Regions from separate parts of the Homo sapiens genome. Here all the other regions are linked to region 3. Evidence: promoter capture Hi-C in 16 types of primary human blood cells and fetal thymus (Javierre and others, 2016). All regions are on one chromosome and are shown on one strand. Each heading gives the region's core, a stretch centred on a gene start or on the middle of the fragment in contact. The rest is flanking DNA. Distances are from core to core; before and after follow the strand shown.

The links. The method cuts DNA at HindIII sites, captures the fragments that hold promoters and counts their contacts. A CHiCAGO score of 5 or more calls a contact.
Region 1: a fragment that was not itself captured here is called in contact with the fragment with the promoter of CCAR2 in region 3 in 5 of 17 cell types (naive B cells, fetal thymus, naive CD8 T cells and 2 more); the score reaches 7.0 in naive B cells.
Region 2: a contact is called between a fragment that was not itself captured here and the fragment with the promoter of CCAR2 in region 3, in 1 of 17 cell types (endothelial precursors). The highest score is 6.5, in endothelial precursors.
Region 4: a fragment that was not itself captured here is called in contact with the fragment with the promoter of CCAR2 in region 3 in 1 of 17 cell types (fetal thymus); the score reaches 5.8 in fetal thymus.
Region 5: a fragment that was not itself captured here is called in contact with the fragment with the promoter of CCAR2 in region 3 in 1 of 17 cell types (endothelial precursors); the score reaches 6.8 in endothelial precursors.
Region 6: a contact is called between the fragment with the promoter of TNFRSF10B here and the fragment with the promoter of CCAR2 in region 3, in 2 of 17 cell types (naive CD8 T cells and total B cells). The highest score is 5.5, in naive CD8 T cells.
Region 7: a contact is called between the fragment with the promoter of RHOBTB2 here and the fragment with the promoter of CCAR2 in region 3, in 3 of 17 cell types (total B cells, M1 macrophages and naive B cells). The highest score is 6.2, in total B cells.

The regions. Positions count from the first base shown.
Region 1 is chr8:23,014,077-23,018,132 of GRCh38, reverse strand. RHOBTB2 (Rho related BTB domain containing 2) reads right to left here. Exons shown (of 10, transcript NM_015178.3): 8 at 3,355-3,443; 9 at 2,390-2,495; 10 at 1-881. The coding sequence ends at 664. Among named protein-coding and RNA genes, the nearest start is that of RHOBTB2-AS1, 16 kb to the right of the region's middle. RefSeq lists enhancers at 3,491-3,540, 3,042-3,806. The HindIII fragment of the contact is 9,071 bases long and covers 1-4,056 here.
Region 2 is chr8:22,953,852-22,957,428 of GRCh38, reverse strand. The region is part of intron 1 of RHOBTB2-AS1 (RHOBTB2 antisense RNA 1); the gene reads left to right. It also overlaps a transcript of RHOBTB2 not described here. Among named protein-coding and RNA genes, the nearest start is that of PEBP4, 28 kb to the right of the region's middle. RefSeq lists an enhancer at 1-181. The HindIII fragment of the contact is 3,199 bases long and covers 1-2,909 here.
Region 3 is chr8:22,602,958-22,606,504 of GRCh38, reverse strand. It overlaps CCAR2 (cell cycle and apoptosis regulator 2), which reads right to left and starts at 1,748. Exons shown (of 21, transcript NM_001393997.1): 1 at 1,663-1,748; 2 at 674-769; 3 at 329-420. The coding sequence starts at 731. It overlaps C8orf58 (chromosome 8 open reading frame 58), which reads right to left. Exons shown (of 7, transcript NM_001013842.3): 7 at 2,363-3,310. The coding sequence ends at 3,199. LOC107986876 (a long non-coding RNA gene) reads left to right here and starts at 1,505. Exons shown (of 1, transcript NR_160769.1): 1 at 1,505-3,372. RefSeq lists silencers at 1,331-1,390, 1,451-1,750 and enhancers at 1,414-1,914, 1,921-2,030. The HindIII fragment of the contact is 4,257 bases long and covers 100-3,547 here.
Region 4 is chr8:22,978,687-22,982,423 of GRCh38, reverse strand. All of the region lies in intron 1 of RHOBTB2-AS1 (RHOBTB2 antisense RNA 1), which reads left to right. It also overlaps a transcript of RHOBTB2 not described here. Among named protein-coding and RNA genes, the nearest start is that of RHOBTB2, 19 kb to the left of the region's middle. The HindIII fragment of the contact is 5,747 bases long and covers 1-3,737 here.
Region 5 is chr8:22,251,354-22,255,442 of GRCh38, reverse strand. It overlaps POLR3D (RNA polymerase III subunit D), which reads right to left. Exons shown (of 9, transcript NM_001722.3): 9 at 842-4,089. PIWIL2-DT (PIWIL2 divergent transcript) reads left to right here. Exons shown (of 2, transcript NR_134293.1): 2 at 537-867. Among named protein-coding and RNA genes, the nearest start is that of POLR3D, 8.3 kb to the right of the region's middle. The HindIII fragment of the contact is 2,212 bases long and covers 318-2,529 here.
Region 6 is chr8:23,067,701-23,071,462 of GRCh38, reverse strand. TNFRSF10B (TNF receptor superfamily member 10b) reads left to right here and starts at 2,432. Exons shown (of 9, transcript NM_003842.5): 1 at 2,432-2,712. The coding sequence starts at 2,569. It also overlaps the pseudogene TNFRSF10B-AS1. RefSeq lists enhancers at 112-611, 933-1,227, 2,009-2,178, 2,199-2,248, 2,789-3,048, a cis regulatory region at 2,442-2,447 and promoters at 1,902-2,572, 1,340-3,762. The HindIII fragment of the contact is 4,380 bases long and covers 1,150-3,762 here.
Region 7 is chr8:22,998,298-23,001,859 of GRCh38, reverse strand. RHOBTB2 (Rho related BTB domain containing 2) reads right to left here and starts at 2,312. Exons shown (of 10, transcript NM_015178.3): 1 at 1,755-2,312. RHOBTB2-AS1 (RHOBTB2 antisense RNA 1) reads left to right here and starts at 2,055. Exons shown (of 2, transcript XR_007060857.1): 1 at 2,055-2,181. RefSeq lists silencers at 1,603-1,652, 1,983-2,152, 2,373-2,632. The HindIII fragment of the contact is 10,673 bases long and covers 1-3,562 here.

The DNA of each region.
Region 1 (4,056 bases), core at 1,028-3,527, 410 kb before region 3:
CTGAATGACCTGTGTCCCCATTCTCAGGTCTGTGCTAGCACAGCCCCCTGGGACGGAGGGACACTGGCAGGATACAGGCCTTTCCACGTCTGGCCTTTTGCAGCTGCACCCCAGGATGTAGAAGCCTTGAGTTGGGCTCTGAAGGCTCAATTTCTACCCTGACTTCTCCAGTGAGGGTGTGAGTAGGCTTCGTGTGGAAATGCCCACAAAACAAATGCAACACTCAAGTCCGTCGGTGGAAAGATATGGCCAACAGGGGCAGGACCCTCGAGGATCACTTCTGCTTGCTGGGAGTGGGGCTGCCTCCCTGGCCAGAGCAGCAACCAAGACACACAGAGAAGCCCTGGAGGCTGGGAGGCTTTCCCTTTGACTCTAGGGCTCTCAAACCCAGAGATAAAATGCCAGGGCTCTTCGCTCCTCCAAGCAGTTGTCTCCCGTCCTGCTTTGGGTCTGGGGACCTCTGCAGGTGGTTCCCGTTCTGCTCCACAGGGCTCAGCTCCTCTCTGGCTGAGCCACGGTGGCTGGTAAGAAGAGCTCCACCCTCTGGGTCCTGGTTACGTGGGCCCCCTGGTCCCTGTAAGGTGGATGGGGTGATGCGGAAGAGCAGAGGGGTGAAGGCGGATGGGGACAACAGCAGCAGGGTCAGAAGAGGGTGGCAGCATCTCAGACCACAGCCGAGGAGGAAGATGGGGATGAGGAGGAGGCTGCCGAGGAAGACGGGGAGGATGGACTGTTCCAGAAGAGCCAACGCCGTTTGGGCTGCCGCTTGAGGTGGAGGTAGTCCTCCTTCTCACGCTCCTTCCGTGCCCGCTGGTAATGATCTTCCTCCTTCAGGTACCACACAGGTGGCCACCGATGCTTCTCGAAATACTCCTGGTTTTCTGGAGCAGAGAGCAGGCAGCTTGGTTAGAAAGGAGGCAGAGGGACAAGAGGAACGTGGGACACCAGCCCTACCCCACCACAAGGCCTGCAGCAGGCCTCCAGCCCAGCCCCCAGCACATCCCCATGACCCACGGCACATGAGCCTCCGAGGCAAGCAAAGTTCCCAAAGAGCAGGGCTGAAAGTCAGCACTGGGGAAGGCCTTTCCAGCTGGGTTCCTTTCCAAAGACGGGCGATCTAGACAAGGGCTTCCTGTGCGTTGGGAATGAAACAGAGGCGAAGGATAAGGGAGAAGGGGTAAGCGAATGTCAGCCAGGAGATACTCAGCATGGTTAGGGGATGAGAGTGGAAGTTTCTGGCCAGAGCTAAGGTTCCGAGGGGGAATACGGAGTCAGGACACAGCAGGACACAGCAGCAGACCAGAGGAACGGCTGGCCTTATTCTGCAGGGTATGGGGGGCCATGGAAGACTACTGTTTCAGTGGAAGGTCTGGAAGCAGGGAGTGATGCTATTGGACCTGTGCTTTAGAAAGAAAATGCTAGCCTGGGTGCAGTGGCTCATGCCTATAATCCTAGCACTTTGGGAGGCCGAGGCAGGCAAATTGCCTGAGGTCAGGAGTTTGAGACCAGCCTGGGCAACGTGGTGAAACCCCGTCTCTACTAAAATACAAAAAATTAGCCAGGCATGGTGGTGGGTACCTGTAATCCCAGCTACCCGGGAGGCTGAGGCATGAGAATCACTTGAACCCAGGAGGTGGAGGTTGCAGTGAGCCGAGATTGTGCCACTGTACTCCAGCCTGGGCAACAGAGCAAGACTGTCTCAAAAAAATAAATAAATAAATAATTTTTTTTTAAAAGTGTTGTAGTAGTGAAAAGGAGAGATCGGGGTGGAGACTTGGCAGCATGAGGCAAAAACACGGCAGCAGGGAGGAGGGTCACGGCAGACTGGAGGGAGCCCAGAGAGGACCCCATGGAAAGAGTGGCAGACCCTTCAGGGAGGCCAGGGACACCTCTCCCTGGAGCCTGTGCAGTTTCTGTTGAGTTCTAGGGCCTAAGAAATTAATCAAGAAGAGACAGGAGGCCTCAGAGGATGCCCAGACCTGGGTGGTCCAAGCTGTGGCCTGTACCCATTCCTGGGTTGTACCATCAATTTAGTGGGCCATGAGCAGCATTAGAAAGATGTATATATTTTCCTATATGTGTCCTGGGTCACAAGATGAAATGTATTTCTTACGGTATTCTGTCCAGAAAAGTCTGAAATCTACCAACTTTAGTCCAGTATCCTCTTCATACCTCTGAGAATGAGAAGCCCAGAGAGGCAGGGTGAGTTGCCCTCCAGGCCAGCACTTTTCCTGGGGCCCCTTGGCTTGGCTGGAGGCTCCTTTGCAGGCTGCTCCCAGCCCCAAGGTCAAGGATTACTGGCAGCCTCGGGGTCCCTGGGATTACATGGGAGCTGTGCACCCCTAAGGGGAGGGCAGCAGGTACTGCCAGGACTGGCCCCGATGCTCACCTGGGGACATGGCCTTCATGTCTCGGGGGAACTTGCGGCACACGTTGTTGTAGTTGGTGCAGATGTGGTGGAGACACCAGTCGGCCAGCTGGTACGCACAGTGGAACTGGGGACAGAAGGGAAGAACGTCTGTACTGAAATCCCCAGGGGAGAGGGTCTGCATAGACACCTCCAGCTGCCTTCAGAGCTGAAGCTCTGGTGCAGGGCACGCAGAGGCCCTGCAGTTCTAGAGAGCCTGCGCCAGAGGCAAGGCCACACAAAACTGAGGATGATGATGCTGCCTCAGGCTCCTTGGCACCACCGCCAGCACCACCATCATCTCACCTCTGTTCTGCCCACTCCTGGCATCCTCGCTGCAGACACCAGAGCCCTATGTAGTGGCTTCATACTGCATCTGCCCTCCTCAGATCTCAACCTACCTGACTTCTCTCTCCTCCACATCTGGGATCAAGGCAGCCTGCACGGAGGCACTGACAATGAGCTAAGGGAGCTGCCTTCCCAGGGGTGTCTGCAAGCCCTGCCTGAGCCGTGCTTCCACTCCACACACTAATCTTTGGTGGCTGAATTTCTGGCACTGTGAAGGCCACTGTGGGAGATTTGGCTTGTTTGTTTGGGATTAAGGGAGTAGGCGGTTAATTTCAGATGGAAAGTCCTCAGTGCCCCTTAAATGACCTCAGGCAGGCAGCAACCATGTGTAAGCCTGAGCCTGGGGTTCCCTCCCCAGCCCTACTGCTGCCTAAAGCCTCATCCCTTCCCCACTTGGTCAGCTCCCCTCCGGGTACACCAGGGAGTTCCCCAGCTGCTTCCTGGCATGGAGGAGGAGATGGGCTACGCGCAGTCAAAGAGCCCAGTCCGATGACAGGTTCTCCCGCATAGACCATCTTCCACCCCTTCCCATTCGCAGCCAATGGGCAGGCAGAGTGTAGAACTGAGACTGTTGTAGATTCCCTCCCCTGCCATGATACCTGAGCCAGTTCCAGGAACACAAGGACGTCCCCATCGATGTCCACCATCATCTGGGTCGCTTCCATCAGCCCGGTCACTGTGTACTGCTCTGTAACACACACGGCCACCAATCAGCTGAAGAAGCACATGACCTGTGCTCACCCTGCCCCACCACATCCCCCAGCTCACTTCAGGGTGAGGAAAACCAGGGCCCGGGCAGGTCCGGACAGGCCAGGAAAGGCCCCAGGCTATGACGTCTGCTGCCACCAGGGGGACCCCAGGGATGACAGCAAGAGCTCAACGGGGTAGGGTAGGAAGAGAAGGAGGACATTGGAATTACCTAAGAGGATTTTTCAAACTACGTATGTCCCGTGACATAATCTGATACAGGTAGGGTCAAAGTTCCCAACAGAACCAGCCTCTGATACAAAAGGGAGAGTGTGTGAAACCTCATGTCTGCTGATCACAGAAAAAGGCTGAGAACTGTGAGTTAGAACTAGGAGTTAAGTCTAGTTGTTTGTTTTAATTTAAATTTTGTAAAAAATTGTGTACTAACCTTGTATTTTAAGTTAAAACACTTATATTGAAGAAGTAAACACCCTTGGTTCTGAATTTTAATTAGAAGTATCAGTATAAACTCATGAGGTATCTTATCTTTAAAAAGATCAATATATTTCCCAGCTCTGCCCCCAGAAAAGACCTAGAAACAACAGTCATCCCAG
Region 2 (3,577 bases), core at 61-2,560, 350 kb before region 3:
AGCCCAAATCAGGGATGTGTTTGAAAAACAGCCCAAAGCAAAACTTAAGCAGAAAGAGGATATTTGCATAATCTCAGAGTATTTCCTCTCAAATATTTAGTGATCACAAAAGAGCAAAATAGTGAGCTTACAGTGGAAGATCCTGGAAGACACCACCTTAACCAAGCAGTGAAGATCAGCCTCACCAGGAATACACATCGGCATCCCACACCCCTGATCTGAAGCACCGAGAAGAGCTCATCATCTCTGTGGCATCCTCTGCAATAATATATCACCTCAACCTAATTGTGAGGAAGAGTTCTGCAAGGTATCTAGCCAGTACCCTTCAAAATGTCAAGGTCATGAAAGACAAGGAAAGACTGAAGAACAGACTAGGGCTAACTAAGGATGTGTAACATTGACTACAGTGTGGATCTAGGATTGGAAGCTGTATTAATTCTTTCTCACACTGCTATAAAGAAATACCTGAGGCTGGGCACCGTAGCTCATGCCTGTAATTCCAGCACTTTGGGAGGCCGAGGCGGGTGGATCACCTAAAGTCAGGAATTCAAGACCAGCCTGACCAACACGGAGATACCCCGTCTCTACTAAAAATATAAAATTAGCCGGGCATGGTGGTGCATGCCTATAATCCAGCTACTTGTGAGGCTGAGGCGGGAGAGTTGCCTGAATCCGGGAGGCGGAGGTTGCAGTGAGTCAAGATTGCGCCATTGCACTCCAGCTTGGGCAACAAGAGCAAAACCCTGTCTCAAAAACAAACAAACAAACAAACAAAACCTGGAGATTGAGTAATTTAGAAAGGTTTAATTGAAGTTTAGTTGGCTCATGATTCCACAGGCTGTACAGGAAGCATGATGCTGGCATCTGCTTGGCTTCTGGGGAGGCCTCTGGAGACTTACAATCATGGCAGAAGGCAAAGGGGGAGTGAGCACTTCACATGGCTGGACCAGGAGGAGGAGGGGGAGGGGCTACACACTTTTAAACAACCAGGTCTCATGAGAACTCACTATCATGAGAACAGCACTGAGGTGATGGTGCTAAACCTCTCATAAGAAACTGGTCCCATGATCCAATTACCTCCCACCAGGCCCCACCTCCAACAATGGGGATTACATTTCAACATGAGATTTGGGTGGGGACATAATCCAAAGCATATCAGAACCTGAAACAGAAAAAGACAATAACGGGAAAACTTGTGAGCACTGAATAAATTCTGTGGCTAATGTCCTAGCTTTGGTAACTGTTCTACAGTTATGCAAGACATTAGTTATTATTGGGTGAAGCTGGGTGTAAGGTATATTGAAAATTCTCTGTACTGTTTGTGTAACTTCTCTGAAAGTATGGAATCAATTGGAAAAAATACACCCCATGAACTCACAGGGGTGGGTTGAGGGGCAAACCAAAGGTGAGCATAGGTAGGGTCCCAGAGCCCTTCCTTAGTGCCCGTCTCCATTTGGGATTTAACTTCTTCATCTGCCTTTGGGGGGAAGCTCCAGGAGGTGGCATCCTTCCATATCCTCTATACCCAGCGCAGAGTGGGCACTAAAGATTTGTTGAGTGTCTGGGTACAGTGGCTCATGCCTGTAATCCCAGCACTTTAGGAGGCCAAGGTAGGAGGACTGATTGAACCCAGGAGTTTGAGATCAGCTTGGCCAACATAATGAGACCGCATCTCTACAAATAATTTATAAATTAGTTGGTCATGGTGGTGCACACCTGTAGTCCCAGCTATTTGGGAAGCTGAGGTGGGAGGATCCTTTGAGCCTAGGAGGTCAAGGGTGCAATGAGCCATGATCATGCCACTGTACTCCAGCCTGGGTGACAGAGAGAGACCTTGTCTCAAAAAAAAAAAAAAAAAAAAAAAGATTTATTGAATGAATTGATGGATGGATGAGATCCTGGTTTCCACAATGGAAGCAGAATTGACCTCCACAGTGAGAATCTTCAAAGCAACTGCAATTGTTAAAGTCTGTACATTGGTCTAGAGTCCTGGAGGACATGGAGCCAGAGTGGGGATAAACTTGGCATTCGGTAAACCTCGGGGGCCACAGTTGTCCCAGTAGGTTCCTTTTAATGGTTTGGGATGCAAGTGCTCTTCCGAAAGGCGGTGCAGGGGCTACTGCAGTGCGGAGTCATTTGCACTCACAGTCTCTTCCTAGAGCTTCCCCGCTTTTGCTGGGTTGTTGATTTTTTTCTGATTTGATTTGCAGGAGCTCTTTATACATTCTGGGAAAGTGGATCCTTTACTGGCCATAGGCAATGCAATAGTTTTTATCTGGGGTATCTTTTCTTTTTTTTGAGACAGAGTCTCACTCTGTCACCCAGGCTGGAGTGCAGTGGTGCAATCTCGGCTTATTGCAACCTCTGCCTCCCTGGTTCAAGCAATTCTCGTGCCTCAGCCCCCCAAGTAGCTGGGACTACAGGCGTGCTCCACCATGCCCAGCTAATTTTTGTATTTTTAGTAAGACTGGGTTTCACCATGTTGGCTAGGCTGGTCTCAAACTCCTGACCTCAAGTGATCTGCCCACCTCGGCCTCCCAAAGTGTTGGGATTACAGGCGTGAGCCACCGCACCCAGCCATCTGGGGCATCTTGACGAAAGAAAAGGTTTTTGTTTTAGATATAGTCAAATCTATGGTTTCCTTGGTACAGTTTGTGGTTTTTTTTCTGTCATATTTCCTTCCCTACCTTAAGGTACTAAAGATATTCTCCTGCATATTATTCTAAAGATTTAAAAGTTTCCATTTTAATATTTCATTTTTTAATCCACCTGAAATTTGTTCTGTTTAAAGTATGGCATCACAACATGATTTTATTTTTTCACAGTGAATCCAATTGTCTCAACACTATTTGTTGGATAGTGTGTCCTTTTCCCTATTCACTTGAAATGTCACCACTGCCAAGGAAGCTTGTAATAAACAAAAAAGATTATTAAGTGTCTGCAATAGAAAACGATACATAGCTTAGAGCTCATTCTTCCAGGTTCTCTGATTCATTGAATTAAGCTATTTTACAACTTTATACATTGTAGATAACTAGCAGCCAATAGAGTGATTTTTGTCTATACATACGTTAAAAAACAAAAACAGAAACAAAAACAAAACAAAACAAAACAAAAAAAACCTGTCTGGTGGAGCTTCAACTGACATTCCCTTTCCTGCTGTGGAAGAAGCCAGTTAGTTTTGCTGCCATTTTCATGTTCATGTCAATATCTCTGATCTATCAATGTGTCCATTCCTTGGATTGCCCTTGTAAGATCTTACCAGTTCCCTCATTAATGGTGAGTTAAATAAAAAATCTACCATGTGTTCATTTTATGTCTGTGTGAGAGTGATGATTTTACCCTTTTTGAAACCACCCTTTAACAGTCACATATCGATGGCATATAGCTTGAAGCAAACACAAAGGGATCAATTAGATAGCGATTATTCACTTATATAAGCTCTTCCTACATGACAATAGGATACGATTTACAAGTGTTTAGACCATTTTATCAGCAGCCAAGCCCTGAGTACAAAGGCAGCCTTGTACATCTGGCAGTGCTCTGACAGGCCAGGAAAACAAACCAACCATTCACA
Region 3 (3,547 bases), core at 499-2,998:
CTGCATCAAGAGTTCGCACAGAGTGAAGTACAGGTGTGGTGGGCATACTCCATCATTAGGGGTTGGGGCATGTTTGAGCTGGTTCTTGACCCACAAGCTTCTTCTGGGATTTCCAGTTCATTAATTCCAAGACGTAAGCTAAAGATTTCCCTGGAGCGAGAAATGAAGATGCCCCAGTCTGAAGGCTATCTGGGCAACCCCATACTAGCCCACTACCAGGAGAGGGATCAGGAATGATAAACACTATTATGTAAGAGAAAAAGAGCACCAGGCCTCCATGCATTCAGTCCCAAGGGCTGAAACTTACTACAAGGGATGCCGAACCTACCTGAAGGTGCCTGGCATTCTGGGACAGTTCTGTGGCCACAGGAGGAGTGAGCAAACCAGGAGGAGGGCCCAGAAGAGATGTTGAAGCTGTGCCTATGGGGAAAGAGAAGCAATCTCCAGGAACCGCCCCTACCACCTTAAGCACGAGTCAACCAAAGGATGTGGTAAATCCAAAGGCTACAGCTCCAGCCAGCTCCTCCACAGAGCTTCACTGGCAATCACTGTGGGCATCTCCTGCTTTCCAGAGGAACATCAGCAGCAAATTGCTCTCCACCAGGGAAACCCCAAACTAACTCCAGAGCACATACTTCCCAGGATGAGGCCAGGTAGGGAGAACAGTGATCACCTGAGAAGTTGCGTCCCCCTGGAAGCGGGTTGATCCGCTGGCGCTTAAACTGGGACATTGGGAACGCTGTCCTCTTTCAGAGTCGTGGGGAAAAGGCTTCAATCCAAAAAGAAAGAAATTAACAGCTTATAAGGGAAATTTCCATCTATACCCGGAAAAGTGGAGAATCTTAAGTAAGGATATTTCGGAAAACAGGGAGGTGGGTAATAAGAATGAATGAAAGCAATGGATGGAGAGAATATAGAGAAGAAAGAAATGAAACAAGAAATTACATTGTTCCAGTTTGCCCTGACAATAACCTAGTGGTGCATGATACTGTCATGCTGTTTTACAGACAAGGAAACTGATGCTCAGAGAGATCAAGAGACTTGCCCGGGGCCACATAACCAGGTAGTGACAAAACTGCTACTCACACCCAGGCCTCCCAACAACTTAGCGCTCCTCTCACTATGCCACGCCACCCCCAGAGTAGCTGGCGGGGTGAGGGGCTCGAGAGAGCCCCGATGACATTCCTTCGTTCAAAAACATCCGCCAAAACCCTCCACGCAAGGCCCGGAAAAATGGAGGAGGCCGGTGCCGGCGAGGAGACTGTGTGGGCCCTCTCCCCGGAAGCCCGACCCGTTGTTTCCTCGACCGGCTGGTGGGAAGGCAGCTCCCTGGCCGACCAAACGCGAAACCGGCTGCGCGCCACCCTCCTGCTCCCACGCTCCCGGGCCCTCCGCTCCGGCCTCAGCAGCCGCCAGCGCCGGGTCTCCCAGCAGAGCCGCGGCGAGGCCACCAAGGGAGGACTGAGGCGCGCGGTTTCTCCTCCTCCCGCCCGCCCCCAAGGCCGAGGCCGTTGCCAGGGAGACGGGACTTGCAGTCCAAAGAGGGGCTCGGCCCCTTCCGCGCCCCACGCATCTTCGCCGCCCGGCCCTCGCAGCCCCTCGGCCAGCGGAGGGGCGGAGGGGCGAAGGGGCAGAGGGGCGGCAGGGGGCCCCCCAACCCACCTGCGGGCCAGGGCAGCGACACCGGGGGGACAAAGACACCCGGAACCACCACAGCCGCTGCTGCCGCCGCCACCGGAAGCGCCTCTCCGGAAGCGCGACCACTGGTCGGAAGCTGCCGCTCTCCCGGATATGGTCCCTCCCTCGTCTCCGCCGACCTCTCCCTTCCCCCACGCCGGCTTGCCATCCCGCGGCAACTGGGGAGCGGAAGTGCGCCTTCCCGGATCGGATGCGCGTCAGGAAGTCGCGCCTCGGTAGTGTCCTCGCTAAAGAATCCCATCAGGAAAGAAGGCTTCGGATCATTGGTTCCGGGCTCAAAGGAAGCGGGAGCTGGGCCCCCCAAACACAAGGGACCCCCGACTGCCTACCACGCTCGCCTCCCTCTGGCAGTCGAGACTGCAACAGATAAGGAAACCAGCCCCTCCTGACTGGAGGAGAAGGATGCCTATCAGTGACCATTTCTAAGAGACATTCCTGGTCTGACTCAAGCCAGTGACCACCATGCCTAGCCAGTCAGGAATCAGTGCCCTAATTCTCAAATATGAAATCTAAGAGGCCTCAATGAAATGACCTGCTCAAAATCTTGCCAGGAGACTGGCCATTTTAGTCCCCATTAGCAATCCCAGCCCCCCCTTATCCTCCGACCTCCCCATCATCACTCCAGCCTTACTTTCCCCTTTCCTATTCACCTGAGGTTTACAAAGCACTTTGAGGCAGTTTAATCTCACTTTATCCTCATAACAAGTCTGTGAGGTAGATAGGGCAGGCATCATTATTCCCAGCGGGAAGCTGTGGCTCAGAAAGGTTGACTTGGGGTCTAAAAACTAGTACAGGCATCTGGTTTGAATTAAGACCTGTAAACGCTAGTACGGAGCAGAGAAGCTGAGCACTGGCTTTGAAAGTTATTCAGTTCCCAGGTTGTCCCTGATCTTCCTCATTCCTTGTGCAGTCTTCAGGAGTCCGGGGCAAGATTCCATGCAGAGGCAGCCAAAGCCACACCGTTCTCTGTCCCAGGGCTGCCAGCATGGCTCTGAGGAGGAAAGCTCAGTAACTGCCCACTGGGGAATAAAGGTCAGTTCCATCCTTCTGCAGTGACCTCCCCCAGAATATCAACCCTTTGGATGCATTATTTCAGAAGAGATGGTTGGATCCAGCCAGCTTGCAACACTGACAGTCACACAGAGATATGCATACCATTGCGCATAAATACACATCTGCAACATGCTGGGCCCAGACAGGTCACCATGCCAAAAACACTCCACGGACACCTGACAATGAGTGAGTTCACATTGTGGAAGCCCAGGGATTTCTGGTGAGGAGGAAGAGCCCTGGAGCTGCGGCATCTTGGGGGCCTCTCAAGAAACCAAGGTTCCTGACCAGACTGCTTAGAGGAGAAAGATTCAGCCCTCGACTCAAGAGAGGAGGGCAGGCGTCAGCAGCTTTTCCTGGCAATGTGGAGAAGCAGCAAGAGGGCAGAGGGCGAGGAAGACTTCACAGCAAGTCCCCTCCACCCAGGGTCACCAGGTGCACCGAGAGGTCTCAGCCTACAGAAAGGTTTTTTGCTCGTTGCTTCTTAACCACTAATGATGGCATAAAGGTCTTCCGGTGGGGGCGGCACTGAGGCCTTTCAGGGAGGTCCCTGGACTCGATCCTGTGGAATGAAAAGAAGACATTAGGCTAGAAGGGGGAAATAAAACTAACAATGGCCCTAGAGTTGAGAGAACGTGGTTTATCTGCTGGTGGGTAGCTGGGTGTGGGCGCAGCCCGGGGCTGTTAAATGACTTGGTATTTCTTCCTCCTGGAGAACGATTCAATACAAGCCCCGAAGCATGATGGCCTTCACCCACTGTGAAATCCTTTGTGCTCCACCTTGCTCTCCCCACGAACC
Region 4 (3,737 bases), core at 1,124-3,623, 380 kb before region 3:
TCACGAACTCCTGACCTCAAGTGATCCACCGACCTCGGCCTCCCCAAAGTGCTGGGATTACAGGCATGAGCCATCGAGCCTGGCCAAGAAAGATTTGAGAATGAGGAGTGGCAAGAAGACTATTGGAAGGAGATGGTAGAGCAGTGTGTCCCGACAGCAGGTGGGAAGGCCAGGAGACAGGGAGAACGGGTTTAAAACACACTGTCATCTTGCCCAGGCCCTTTCTTGGCTACTTGATGGCATAGGGATGGAGGCACTGAACCAGTGGCCTCTGAGTCTTCCTGCACTTGGGTTAGTTGCAATGGTGGCAGGACAGAGCCAGAGGTCACTGGAGCAAGCAGGTGGCTGCTCTCTTCTAGTCTACTGCAGAAATGCCTGGGCAGGTCCCAGGACTCAGCCTCTCTGGTAACGGTCACCACCATTTATACATTGAGGGCCTTAAGATCCTGGTAGGGGCGCCTGGTATCGGGGGGCAGGTGGGCAAAGTGGCCAGTTGCACCTGAGTGTAAAGTGGCGGATATGGAACCGCCCAGGCTGCAGCAGCAAGGCGCCACTGCAGCTGGTGCTCAGCTGACTGGGCTCAGGGCCAGGCTGAGACCCTAAACTCGTCTGGAAAAGCTGGCACTTTGCTGTAAGAGTATGCCAGCCAGGAGTGGGCCTATTGCTCATTCTGCACACCAAGAAAACACACTGAGTTGCTTCAGGGGCAGGCAGTGGGGGGACAGGGCAGCTGACTGCACCCACCTCTGTCCCTTTCAGCTTCACCCCTACCCCACCTCCCACCTCTGCCCTCTTTCAACCCCCACAGAAGAAGCCTGGACTACCCACAGCTGCAAATTCCTGAATTCCCTAATTCGAGGCAAGGACCTGGTGTCTTATTCAAATGAATCTGTTTGGCAAAAGACCCAGCTCTCAAAACCAGCCTACTTACAACAGTCTAGAGGGGCCTGCCCTGGCGAGAGAATGTCTCAGGGCTCCACTGAAGTACAGAAGAGCAGTAGCCAGGGTGAGGGGGTCCTACACCAGGAATGAGCTGCGGGTAGCTCCCCCAGACTCATCCAAGCTCTCTTTCTTTTGAATATCGATAAAATTCAGCCTAGGTTTAAAAATGATTGTCACCACAACCAGAGATAAGGAAACATTTCACTTTTACTGGGTGGTTGAATCAACTCCAGCCAGTAAGCATTTCTTGAATGAGTTCTGGCAGGTGTGCCAGGCACTGACAACTTGCTTTACAACAGGAAATGAGATCGTAAGAAAAGAATATGTAATCTGACAAGCAGACCTTTTATATGTACTGAAATAGAATTCTGGAAAATACTTGTATAAATCTCAGAGACAAATCAGTTGGTGGTTTAAAATTGGAAAAGTTGTGAACAAATTCTTTTGCTTTAATCTCTACAAACAGATAACGTATCATACTTGGAAGAAGAAACATCACCAAGCAATTTGGTGTTTTCTTTTGATTGGCTGTGGCTGAAAGAGAAAGTTAAATATAGGAGATGAGAGCAAATTTAAAAATATTGTTTTTGGGTCACGGCTATGGGGTGAGGTGCACTTAATGTAATCAAGTTGAAACACGAAGTTGTAATTTGGGATTTCTAAAGTATTTGGGACATCACACAAAGTTGTTAGAAGAAAAGATTCCTTGGAATTTAGAGCTCTGATTTTAAATATCCACAGAGTTTGTTTTTTAAAAAAACTTGGTGTTGGACATTAGTTCAGAATTTCACTTTGAAGACAGCTAGCATAACAATCAAAATTGCCCCGATTAAATGAACTGGCCCTTCTGTTTTTCAAAATTACTAAGGAATTTGGTGATTAAATGAATTCTTATTTCTCTTCACACTGGTAAGGTAAATACACAAGTTTTTCACTGTTTATCTTCATAAATATTCTAATGTAACAATTGAATACGTAAAATCTGAAGGATTTAAATTTACTAGTAAATGATTTCTAGCAAGTAAAAATAGGCAATGAACATGCAGTTATAATTCATGAAAAAGGAAATAAATATAGAAGCAACCATTTAAAAAGGTTTTGCCTTACTTAGTAATTTTTAAAGTGAAAATTAGATTAATTTTTAACCTATCAAATTGGTGAGGATTTTAAAGAGTGATAATACTCCTTCTGCTTAGTAGGAGTGTAAATTAGCAAAATATATCTGGAAACTAATCAGATGATATATGCTACTTCTTTTATTGACTCCCACGTGCACATAAATAAACCTTTTTTTCTCCTATTAATCTGCTGTTTGTCAGTTCAATTTACAGCCCTCAAATAATGAACCTAACAGGATAGAGGAAAACTTTTCTTTTTTGCTTCTCTACATATATATTAAGAGGCTTAAAAGAATTCTTATACCTGGCTGGGCACAGTGGCTCACACCTGTAATCCCAGCACTTTGGGAGGCCAAGGAGGGTGGATCACGAGGTCAATAGATCGAGACTATCCTGGCCAACGTGGTGAAACCCCGTCTCTACTAAAAAAATATAAAAATTAGCTGAGCGTGATGGCACGCGCCTATAGTCCCAGCTACTCAGGAGGCTGAGGCAGGAGAATTGCTTGAACCCAGGAGGCAGAGGTTGCAGTGAGCTGCGATCGCTCCACTGCACTCCAGCCTGGTGACAGAGTGAGACTCTGTCACAGAGTCTCACTCTGTCCCAAAAAAAAAAAAAAAAGAAAGAAAAGAAAAGAAAAGAAAAAGAAAAAAGAAAAAAGAAAAAAAAAGAATTCCCATAATTTGGCTCAAGAAAACTCTACTAACAAAATCTAAGGAAATAATCACAAGTCAGGAAAAGGTTTATGTATAGGACGTCATAAACACTAGTGATAGTGGGGAAAAAATGAAGAAAAAAATAAACTGTCCTCCAAGAGGGGATGTCTTCAATAAATAATGGCGTATCCATAAGATAGAATCTGTGTGGTACATGCGTGCACACACACACATCCACAGTACATGATTGTACACAAAACCAAAAAAAATTCATACACAAAGGATAGAAAGAACTATTACAAAATATAAAAAGTAGTTATCTCCGGATGGTAAAATTATTGTTCTTAGAATTTTCTTTTCTGTATGTATTTTTATATTTTCCAGATTTTTACAATATGTATGTAATACTTTTAGATTGGAGTGTTTGAGAGAAGCACAGATTTATTTATTTACCAAAATAATAAACAAATTAATTATTTTGAAAGGAAGGGAGGAAGAAAGAAAAATGTTTGGAAAGATCTTTTATTTCCCTTGTAAAATGTCATTAAAGCAACAAATATGGGTGGATTTTGTTTTTCTTAGGGTAAGAACAGTATTTTAATTATTTTATTGCATCCCAAAGGTCAGTGATAAAAGAAAATGTAATTTAACCAAGTCAAAACACAAAGTTGCAACTTGGTATGTTAAATAACTTGGTTCATAAAAGATTCTAATAAAGATGGGAATATATGTATACATCATGGCCATATATAAGATAAAGGAAGACAGGCAGGGAACTACTTTCTGTAAATAACTTTTAAACTTACTTTCAAAGATAAGAAAACATAACAGGAAGTTAAGTTAAAAAAAACACATGATTTCAACATCTGAATACCAACTATTTTTAGTTATTCTATTTGCATGTCATATACTGTTATATGTTTTTTGCTTTTTTATCAGATATTTACTCGTAAATGATTTCTAGCAAGTAAATACAGTCAATGAACATGCAGTTATAATTTATTAGAAAGGAAATAAATAC
Region 5 (4,089 bases), core at 174-2,673, 350 kb after region 3:
AGCTTTCTATTTTTTTTTTTTTTTTTCTGAGATGGAGTTTCACTCTTGTTGCCCAGGCTGGAGTGCAATGGCGTGATCTTGGCTCACCGCAACCTCCGCCTCCCAGGTTCAAGCAATTCTCCTGCCTCAGCCTCCCAAGTAGCTGGGATTACAGGCATGCACCACCACGCCCAGCTAATTTTGTATTTTTACTAGAGACGGGGTTTCTCCATGTTGAGGCTGGTCTCGAACTCCTGACCTCAGGTGATCCGCCCACCTTGGCCTCCCAAAGTGCTGGGATTACAGGTGTGAGCCACTGCGCCTGGCCCATGTAAGCTTTCTTAAGATGTAAAGACTGCATTTTTTTTCTGACTATATCTTAAATGTAGATGAGCCAAGTAACAAAGTCCAACTTCTGACTCAGTTTTTGGGAAGACAGATCAGTGGTTACCCCAATGGAAGGGAACAGAAGAAATGCTTTAGAAGAGCTGAGGCAGAAAGTGGCCATGCAGAGGGCTCCTAGAACTGGTGTCCCATCACCATCTCTGTTTTTTCAGATGACACCCCTAAGACCTGAGCCCCTTCTGGGCCCCACACTCCACCTGTAGAACTCTGATGGGGCCTTGTGCGGCCGAACCACAATCCAAGAGAGGTGTTCACATCATGTGTCGCTAGCCACAGCCATCTCAAGGGGAAATGCCCCAAATGTAGAAGTATCTGACACCAGGACTGGGGGTTGGAGCACTGGATGAACAGCGTGTGTGCCACTCTTTCACTGTGCACCGTCCTAAGAAAGAAGCCTGTTTCCCTTTGAAGAGCCTAGTGCTGACTGCCCAATTCAATCGGACCACGCAGGGCAGTCTGAGGATTAAAAGATGCTACCTTTAATTCCTTCGGCTAATTCAGAAGTATGTGAAACACAACATACTCATTAACATGGAAGAACTGGATGTGTGTGCATGTGGGTGTGTATTATTTATTTTTCAGAGACAAGGTTTCACCATGTTGCCCAGGCTGGTCTTGAACTCCTGGGCTCAAGTGATCCTCCCACCTCAGCTCCAGAGTAGCTGGGAACGAAGAATTGTATGTATTTCTGAGTGAGATAGAGTACACGATAAAACCACATAATTTATATCATTATAAATAACATACAAAATTTTGGAGGCTGAAATAATATACATGAGCAGTCATAAAATACAATGAAATCATGTGCTTTGCAGCCACATGGATGGAGCTTGAGGTAATTATCCTAACCTCGGAAACAGAAAATCAAATAGCACATGTTCTCACTTATAAGTGGGAGCTAAATAATGGGTACCTATGGACATAAAGATGGAAATAGCAAACACTGGGCACTCCAAAAGGGGGTGAGTGGGAGGGGGGGCAAGGGTTGAAATGCTACCTGAGTACAATGTTCACTATTTGGGTGATAGGTATGACAGAAGCCCAATCCCCACCAGTACGCAATATACACAAACACGCACATGTGGCTGGGCGCAGTGGCTCACGCCTGTAATCCCAGCACTTGGGAGGCTGAGGCAGGTAGATCACTTGAGGTGAGGAGTTTGAGACCAGCCTGGCCAACATGGTGAAACTCCCGTCTCTACTAAAAATACAAAAATTAGCCAGGTGTGGTGGCATGTGCCTGTAATCCCAGCTATCTGGGGGGCTGAGGCGGGAGGATCACTTGAACCTGGGAGACAGAGTTGCAGTAAGCCAAGATCACACCACTGGGCGACAGAGTGAGACTCCATCTCAAAAAACAAAACAGAACAAAACAAAACAAAACAAAACTAACATGCTCATGTACCTGCTGAATCTAAAATAAAATAATATACACTAAAATGTTAAAATTGATTTTAGTAGAATAAAAGGTGACTGAATATTTTAAAAAGTTATGCCTAGATGAATACTTTATGATTTTACATTGCAGCATTTTTTGAACATGGCAGCAGCTACTATGAATTGTCTATCCAACTGCCACTCCAGCTTCCTCCCTACTAACAAAACCCCAGCTCAAGGGCAAGTGTGCTCAGTGCCAGGGGATACACTAGTCGACCCATCCCCCTTTGCCAGGGCCTGGTCCAAGAGTGGGCACGTGGCCCCACTCTATAAAGAGACAGGGGGGAGGTTGCTGGAGCTGCTGACGGTTATTCCCGGATAAGGGCAGAATGAGAAGGCTCCTGTACTACTGTCCACTCTGGCTGTGGACACCATCATTTGCAGAATGATGCTTGGCGCAGGAGCAGCCATTCTGCAATACTGAGGATGGCAAAGCAGACGGTTCCAAGGAAATCCTGATGACATTTTGGCTTCCACCCAACTCTAGAACCATCTATTTACAGACTTTTTGCTATGTGAGATAAACATTCCCATTGCTTAAGCCACCGTCAGGCTAATTTTCTGTTACTTGTGCTGATCACATCCTGTTATAGGCAGTTATCTGTCTGGCACCGAATAAATGCCTCATGTTCACTCTAATTTAAAAGCAACCCTATTAAGCTACTACTGTCTCACTCTTACATAAAATAAAATAAATAAAATCAAGCTTAAAGAGGATAAGTGATTTTTTCCAACCAAAGTTACTGGTGGAGTCAGATTCAAACCCAACCGTGACTCGACAGCCTGGACTCTGCCACTTAAACATGTAGTTAGAAAAGTGTGCAAGCCTATTGTTCCTTCTTTCTGTATTTAACAGAAAGCATATACACAGATGCAGGGAGCAACAAATTTGCATCCACTTGCACTCATGTATAAATTTGGCTTTGGGCTCTTCTCCTCTGTCATCTGTCCATATTCCTTGGTAGAAATGCATGCCTCAGGGGCCTGACCAAGAAGGTGGACTCTCCTCTCTTTTCCCACACTTATTAATAAGACCTAATTTGTGCATCAGGGATCTGAGACAGGTTGTGAGGACTTTGATACGGAGTCATAAGGTTCAAGCCAAGACATCTGAATGGGCGAAATGAACGTGAAAGCAGTACATGTTCTTCCTCAAACTTTCTTGGAAGGGTCAGAAAACAGAAGATTGAAAAATACCCAATATCTAACATCGGGCCATTGAGTTCGTCCAAAAAAAGCAGAAGAGTATTTCTGAACCAAAGAAACAGAATAGAAAGAGAGGATGAGAATGGAGACCTGCTGGCCGTGCATCAGCTATTTAAAGGAAGAAAGGGCTGGAGCCCAGAGTTAACCAAAGCTTAGCCTTAGACCAAACAGGGCTTCCCAGCACAGGTTTCCAAGGAACCCTTTCTGCTCCAGTCCTCTACAGTGAGAAGAGCCCAGAATAACACTGTCCAATGGAGCTGACATGAGCTTCAGCACCAGAAAGGGTGATATGGTCACCAAATATTCAGTCAGCCTCACAGCTGCTGGCTGGGCAGGTTGAGGGCTTTGTAGGAGAAGCCCAGCCTTGACAAATGAGTAACAGGCTTGAGGAACTTTGAAAAGAAGGAAGGTGAGCCTGAAGGAAGATGTACCCAAAATCTAAGGGGCCACTAGGAATCAGGGATGGGGGTGGAGGGGAAGCGGTTCTTCCTGAGCCCCTATGGTTCATACTGTCCCAGAGGCCAGGTGCCACGACGCCAGCAAAGGGAAGTTGTGCCATCAGCGTCTAACAGCCACACACGCTGCCGCATGAGACCTTTTTCTAACCTGCAAACGTCTCCCCAGCTGAACCAGGGAAAACCCCAGCCCTACTGTCAAGACAAGAGGAGAAGCTGTTCCTCCAGGGACAACACAGTACAATGACCTGGTAAAGGGAACAGGATCACAGACCCAAAAAAGTAACACTGAGTAGGTGGCTCTGGCAGTGCTAGGACAGGAGACGGGCAGGCCTCTGAAACCCAAAGTTTTTGAAGTGGGCATCATCGGCCAAGTGTCAAAGAGGCCATTATTCAATACATCCCTAACTTCTCTTATGAAGGATTTAGTTTTTTTGTTAGCAATATATGACTTCGGCTCATACATGAGTACTAACTGCAAAGGAAAGAGTGCAGGGAACATGTCCTGGGCCCAACATGTCCCCCAAAGGCTTTTGTAGGGTGCTGGGAGGGGTCTCTGACTTCTTCCTTTCTATTACCTGCAGCTATTACAGTAACTCACACAGGA
Region 6 (3,762 bases), core at 1,183-3,682, 460 kb before region 3:
AGCTGGGAATTAAGTCTTCTCTGCCGCCCTCCCCTGTAGTCTTGCCTGGATCCCCCCAGTCATCTACTCCCAGTACCAAAAACTCCTGTATTCTTGAAAATCCGTAGTACTGAGAGGTGACAGCTTGCTGGCAGTCCTCAACAGCCCTCGCTCGCTCTCGGCGCCTCCTCTGCCTGGGCTCCCACTTTGGCGGCACTTGAGGAGCCCTTCAGCCCACCGCTGCACTGTGGGAGCCCTTTTCTGGGCTGGCCAAGGCTGGAGCCCGCTCCCTCAGCTTGCACGGAGGTGTGGAGGGAGAGGCGCGAGCGGGAACCGGGGCTGCGCGCGCGGCACTTGCGGGCCAGCTGGAGTTCCGGGTGGGCGTGGGCTCGGCGGGCCCTGCACTCGGAGCAGCCGGCCGGCCCTGCCGGCCCCGGGCAATGAGGGGTTTAGCACCCGGGCCAGCGGCTGCGGAGGGTGTACTGGGTCCCCCAGCAGTGCCGGCCCACTGGCGCTGCGCTTGATTTCTCGCCGGGCCTTAGCTGCCTTCCCGACGGGCAGGGCTCGGGACCGCCATGCCTGAGCCTCTCACCCCCTCCGTGGGCTCCTGTGCAGCCGGAGCCTCCCCGACGAGCACCTCCCCCTGCTCCAGGGCGCCCAGTCCCATCGACCACCCAAGGGCTGAGGAGTGCGGGCGCACGGCGCGGGAGCACGGCGCGGGACTGGCAGGCAGCTCCACCTGCAACCCCGGTGCGGGATCCACTGGGTGACGACACCTGGGCTCCTGAGTCTGGTGGGGACGTGGAGAACCTTTATGTTTAGCTAAGGGATTGTAAATACACCAATTGGCACTGTGTATCTAGCTCAAGTTTTGTAAACACACCAATCAGCACCGTGTGTCTAGCTCAGGGTTTGTGAATGCACCAATTGACACTCTGTATCTAGCTAGTCTGGTGGGGCCTTGGAGAACCTTTGTGTCCACACTCTGTATCTAGCTAATCTGGTGGGGAAGTGGAGAACATTTGTGTCTAGCTCAGGGATTGTAAACCACCAATCAGCGCCCTGTCAAAACAGACCACTCCGCTCTACCAATCAGCAGGGTGTGGGTGGGGCCAGATAAGAGAATAAAAGCAGGCTGCCAGAGCCAGCAGTGGTAACACTGTGGAAGCTTCCTTCTTTCCCTCTGCAATAAATCTTGCTACTGCTCACTCTTTGGGTCCACACTGCCTTTATGAGCTGTAACACTCACCTTGAAGGTCTGCAGCTTCACTCTTGAAGCCAGCGAGACCACGAGCCCACCAGGAGGAAAGAACAACTCCAGACCCACTGCCTTAAGAGCTGTAACACTCACTGGGAAGGTCTGCAGCTTCACTCCTGAGCCAGTGAGACCACGAACCCACCAGAAGGAAGAAACTCCGAACACATCCGAACATCAGAAGGAACAAACTCCAGACACGCCGCCTTTAAGAACTGTAACACTCACCGCGAGGGTCCGAGGCTTCATTCTTGAAGGCAGTGAGACCAAGAACCCACCAATTCCGGACACAGTACCATGAAGGAATGAAAATACATAACAATGTGATGTATCATGTTTTATTTCCTAGACTAGTGACAAATGAAAGCTAAGTGTAGCAAGGGTGCAGGGACACAGGCACATTTGTGGACTAGGTGTGAGTGTAAGCTGGGTTCGATGGTCTTTTGGCCAACATAGTGAACCCCTGTGTCTACTAAAAATACAAAAATTAGCCAGGCGTGGTGGTGCAGGCCTGTAGTCCCAGCTACATGGGAGGCTGAGGTGGGAGTATCGCTTGAACCTGGGAGACGGAAGTTGCAGTGAGCCGGGATCACACCACCGCTCACCAATCTGAGCCACAGAGAGACTGTCTCAAAAAATAAACCACAAGGAAGGGAGGTAGGGGGAGGGGGAGGGAGGGAGGAAAGAGAAAGAGAGAAAGGAAGGAAAGAGAAAGCAGGAAGGACGGAAAGAAGACGAAAGAACGAAAGAAAACGAAAGAAAAAAGGAAAGAAGAGAGAAGGAGAGAACAGAAGGGGCAGGTGCCCCTGGGAAGGGGAGAAGATCAAGACGCGCCTGGAAAGCGGACTCTGAACCTCAAGACCCTGTTCACAGCCAAGCGCGCGACCCCGGGAGGCGTCAACTCCCCAAGTGCCTCCCTCAACTCATTTCCCCCAAGTTTCGGTGCCTGTCCTGGCGCGGACAGGACCCAGAAACAAACCACAGCCCGGGGCGCAGCCGCCAGGGCGAAGGTTAGTTCCGGTCCCTTCCCCTCCCCTCCCCACTTGGACGCGCTTGCGGAGGATTGCGTTGACGAGACTCTTATTTATTGTCACCAACCTGTGGTGGAATTTGCAGTTGCACATTGGATCTGATTCGCCCCGCCCCGAATGACGCCTGCCCGGAGGCAGTGAAAGTACAGCCGCGCCGCCCCAAGTCAGCCTGGACACATAAATCAGCACGCGGCCGGAGAACCCCGCAATCTCTGCGCCCACAAAATACACCGACGATGCCCGATCTACTTTAAGGGCTGAAACCCACGGGCCTGAGAGACTATAAGAGCGTTCCCTACCGCCATGGAACAACGGGGACAGAACGCCCCGGCCGCTTCGGGGGCCCGGAAAAGGCACGGCCCAGGACCCAGGGAGGCGCGGGGAGCCAGGCCTGGGCCCCGGGTCCCCAAGACCCTTGTGCTCGTTGTCGCCGCGGTCCTGCTGTTGGTGAGTCCCCGCCGCGGTCCCTGGCTGGGGAAGAGCGTGCCTGGCGCCTGGAGAGGGCAGGGAGAGAGGGGGACACGGCGGGGGTGCGTGGCCCGGGTCGCCTGCGGCCGGGCATGTCCGGGCAAGACGCACCAGTCGTCGGAGTCGGGGGAAGAGATGGGTCCCCGGGTTGGGCAGGAGCGACCTGGGCCGCCAGGGAACAGAGCGCGCGCTCCACTTGGTGTAAATTCCCGAATCCAGTGGGGGAGGGCGACAAGGAGGGAATTCCCGAGTAAGCTGCGTGAAGCCACGGAGAGGTCGTCGGACTTTGATTTTGTTTTCTTTCCTTACTTTCTGTTTCTTTCTCTTTTTCTCTTTCTTCCTTTCTTTCCCTCCCTTCCTTCCTCGCTCAGTTCCTGCCTTAATTTCTTTTTCTTTTGCGCCTTCGAATGAATTCCTAAAGGCGCTCATTGCAGATCGCTTTGAACCTGCGGCCGGCGAAGAACTCCCCTGTGGTCGCTGCGGCCCAGTGGTTCCGTTCCGTGCGCGGGAGTCGTCGCGGGCGCAGCTGGAGAGGCCCCTTCCCCTCCTTAGCGGCTGCGCCCCTACGCGTGCGGGGCCGCTCATCGCCAATGCCATTGTTTGGGGTTCCTTGGGAAAACGAGATTTAGGAGAAGGGAGTTGTGGCACTTGGGGCCTGACCTGCTTGATAATAGCAGCTGCATTTTGGCCTGGGAAGAGCCTTTCTTGCCACCTCTTGGCAAGTATCCGTGATAATGGGGAAGGGACAAAGAGTCGGCTTTGTAGGGAACAGCATGGTGTGCTCAGCGCCTGGAACTGCGCTTGGGGCCAGGAGAGGTTCTGAATCATCACATTTTACAGAGGAAGAGACCGCAGCTCAGAGTGGGGAAGTGTGTGGGCCTAGACCTAACTCAAGACTGTACAGAGGGGCTGGAAGGGAGAGGAGGAACAGTGAAAGGAAGGTCAAGAGAATGCTGGTGTTGACCTAGAAGAATGTCAGTGTGAAGCATTGGAGTTTCATGGGATATTGTTACACACCTCATGTTTTCA
Region 7 (3,562 bases), core at 1,063-3,562, 390 kb before region 3:
CATCCATTCCCCAGCCCCTTCAGCAGTCCCCTTGTCCTTCAGCTGCCTCTCTGTTTGTATCATCTCACCCTTTCTACCCTGTCCCAACTGCCTGACTGGCAAACTTCACTGTCCTATCTAGGAAGAGGCAAGTCACTTATATTTTCTGGGCATCAGTCTCCCCCTCTGGGAAATGGGTATGAAGACATTGGAAGAGTCTCCTGAACCGTGGTTAATTTGTGCCAAGAGAGGCTGGGCTGAAAGGAGGTATTTGTCTTCTTATGTAATGTGGTATTATATAATGCTAGATTGCATATCTATATGTGTAATTATATCTGTCTTTAAGATACAGACTGGCCCAATTCAAGTGTTAGAACTCTTAGTCTAATCAGGCCTGTCTTAAAGGAGGATCCTGTCCTGGAGAGAGTGTGCCAAGAGTAATATAATTTTTGCCCTAGGATGTTGCTGATGTTGTATCATTGCTGATGTATGGTGATACAGCCCACTCATTGCTGATATATGGTGATACAGCCCATTCAGTGAGCCTCTCAGCTTCCCCTCTCCCTCCGGCTCTCTCTTCTTCCCTGACTCCAGACTCTCCCTCACAATTGCCTCATCCCCACTCAATCAACCTCCATAAACTATGACCTCCTCACCACCCAGCCCTGGGCATCACAACCCCCAACTCACTCCTCTTCCATGACAATCGCAAAGTCACTGGCATGTGTTCCTTCCATCCCTGTCCCATGATCCCTGTGCCCCTCCAAAAACAGCCTCCTGCCCACCGCTCTCCCAGCTCTTTGTACTTGGTGCAAGCCAAAACCCAAGGTGTGCTGAAATTAGCTACAAACCTCGTGCTCTCCCAGTCCCACCCCCACACCCCTACACACACTCTTTGCAGAGCTCAGAAAGGGCCCCTTTCCCTCCCACAGCTGATAGGAGGCTTGTTCATCTGTGGCTGCCCTAGTCTGGTTGTCAAGGAAACAACAGAATCTCCCTGGGAGCCTGGCTTGTCTCCTAGCAACCAGTATCCCACATCATCTTACAAAATGGGAATGGGAGGAAAATCCTGAAAATGAAGGTAAAATCAAGGGAGATGGATTGAATGGAGAATTGGAAGGAGAAGAACAAAGAGAGAGTGGACTCCTAATTCGGGGAGGCTCCCACGGGGGTCGCTGGCATTGCAAGAAGCCCCGTGCAGATCCAACAGAAAGCAAGGCCCAAAGGGACCCTGAATGGTCAGATTAAAGAAATGCAAGCCTAAACACAGATAAGCCCCCTCAAACCTAAAATGTGGACACATCACCAAACACCGCCAAAGATCTCCCCAGTAGTTTCACAGAACTCAGTTACATAGACTGCAATGGAGTTGAGTTCAAAGAACCAGCTCCGGAACCGCCAGCAAAACACCCCAATTCCACTGTTGTTTTGTGTTTGTTTTCTTAACAGAATCACTCCCACCACTCTGGACCGTTTTTCCTTTTTTCTGACACGCTACTCTGCACACACACAAAATAGAAATTTAAAAATTTTTAAACATCGAGAAGGGGGAGGGGCACGACAGGCCGAAGCAATCAAGTCATCTTCCTTTCCCTAGAAACACCGGAAAGGATTAGGCTCCAGCCCCGCTGTACCCAGCAGCCGAAGCCAGAGCCCAGGGACTAGCGGGGCCCGGGGAACGTAGCGAGGGGCGCGGCAGGGCAGGGAGGGCGGAGCGGCGCGTCTGCAAGGGCTGCTGGCCACCCCGCCATAACCGCAAGCAGCCATCTACTTACACCACTACATGTGACGGGGTGGCTTCTAGCGTGAGGAACACATCTCTTCCTGCTGAGCACGCTCATTTTAGTGAAATGTCAGGGGTCCCTCCGCGCCTGCAAGTTGGGACGACGCCGGCGCCGCCGCGCTGCTGCTGGGCTCCAGCCTCCCGGCCAGCTCGCGGCCACTCAGAAACTCCGGCAGGGCAGCCCAGGCCGGACGTGGGCCCAGGAGCGGACGCGCGCGCTGCACTGCAGCCGCTGCCCCTTCCGGATCAGCATCGCCCCGCGCGCCAGGCGCCCAATGTCACGGCGGCGCGCGGAGCCGGGCTGCGGAGGCAGCGGGCGGCGCGCAGGGGCGCCGGGAGAGGGGCGAGGCCGCCGCCGCTACGCGCCCGGGCCCGCGGCGAAGGCGCTGCCGCGAAGACGCCTGGCGCTGCAGTCCCAGGTACCGCTCGCGACCTCCTTTTTTCATTCACAAAAAAAGGATAGGGAAAAAAAAAAGAAAAGAAAAAAACGGGAGGGTAAAAAAAGGAGGAGAAAAAAATCGCACCCAAGACGACAGCCGTGACGGGCCCCGCCCACTGCCGCGCGCAGTTGGTGGAAAGCGTTCGGGGGGCGGGGAGGGGGCGGGCGGGGGAAGAAGGGGATTGGACGCCCCGCAGATCCCGCCTCGCAGCACCGCTCCCGCCCACCGCCCGCGCTCTTCCGCCCCTCCCGCAGCGACGCCGCGGGGAGGGTCTCGGCTCGCGGGTCTGGGTGGCGCCGGTCCCTCCACCTGGCGAGGCGCAAAGGCTCTCCGGACGCCCACGGGGTTTTCCCCTTTCCTTCGGGAGGCGGGGGAGAACCTCTGAGAGGCATCCTAGTGCACCCTGGAAGGGATGCTAGTTGGAGGAGAACGTGTGGTTGTAAGCCCAGGCCCCCACCACTTGCCCACGGGGAGGCGACGGCAGGGGCAGTCGGGGGGGCGGGGGGCGGGGGCCGGGTAGGGACGAATAACCGGCGTTTCCATACAAGCCCTCTGCTGCTTTGGGAATTTTCGTGGCACTTGAGAGCCTTCCTCCCTCCATGGCCCTTAATGAGTTGTGGGGTGGGTACCTGTACCACGTTACCTGTCTCCCACCTAGGCCTTCTTCAGCGGGTCCCCACCTCCATCCCATCCCCCTCCTGTTGCCTCCTGGAGTTCAGTAATAGCTGCTAATCTCTGAAAGAAACACCATGAAGTGAGTAGCCTCGAAAATCGTCCCTAAGCCTTCTTTGGGTTTTCTGCCTCAATTTACCCCTCTGTAAAATAGAGAGATTCTAAGGTATAACATCTATAACCTGAGGGGTCCCTAGAAGACACTTTCCATATTCAAGGCTGGTTTTATCAGGATAATCTTTTTTTTTTTTTTTTTTTTTTGAGTCTCCCTCTGTTGCCCAGGCTGGAGTGCAGTGGTGCAATCTTGGTTCACTGCAACCTCCGCCTCTTGGGTTCAAGCAGTTCTGCCTCAGCCTCCCGAGTAGCTGGGACTACAAGTGCACGCCACTATTCCCAGCTAATTTATGTATTTTTGGTAGAGACGGGGTTTCACCACCTTGGCCAGGCTGGTCTCGAACTCCTGACCTCGGGTGATCTGCCTGCCTTGGCCTCCCAAAGTACTAGGATTACAGGCGTGAGCCACCATGCCCAGCCAGGATGATCTTGACTGCTAGTGTTAAGTAGTCAGCTCAGTCTGGTTTGATTCATCTCCTCAGTTACCTCTGGACAATTTTTAAAGCCCAGACCAGCCTGCCACCCACCTGAACCGCCTCCACCACTCCTCCATCTTGTGCTCTGAAAATGCAAA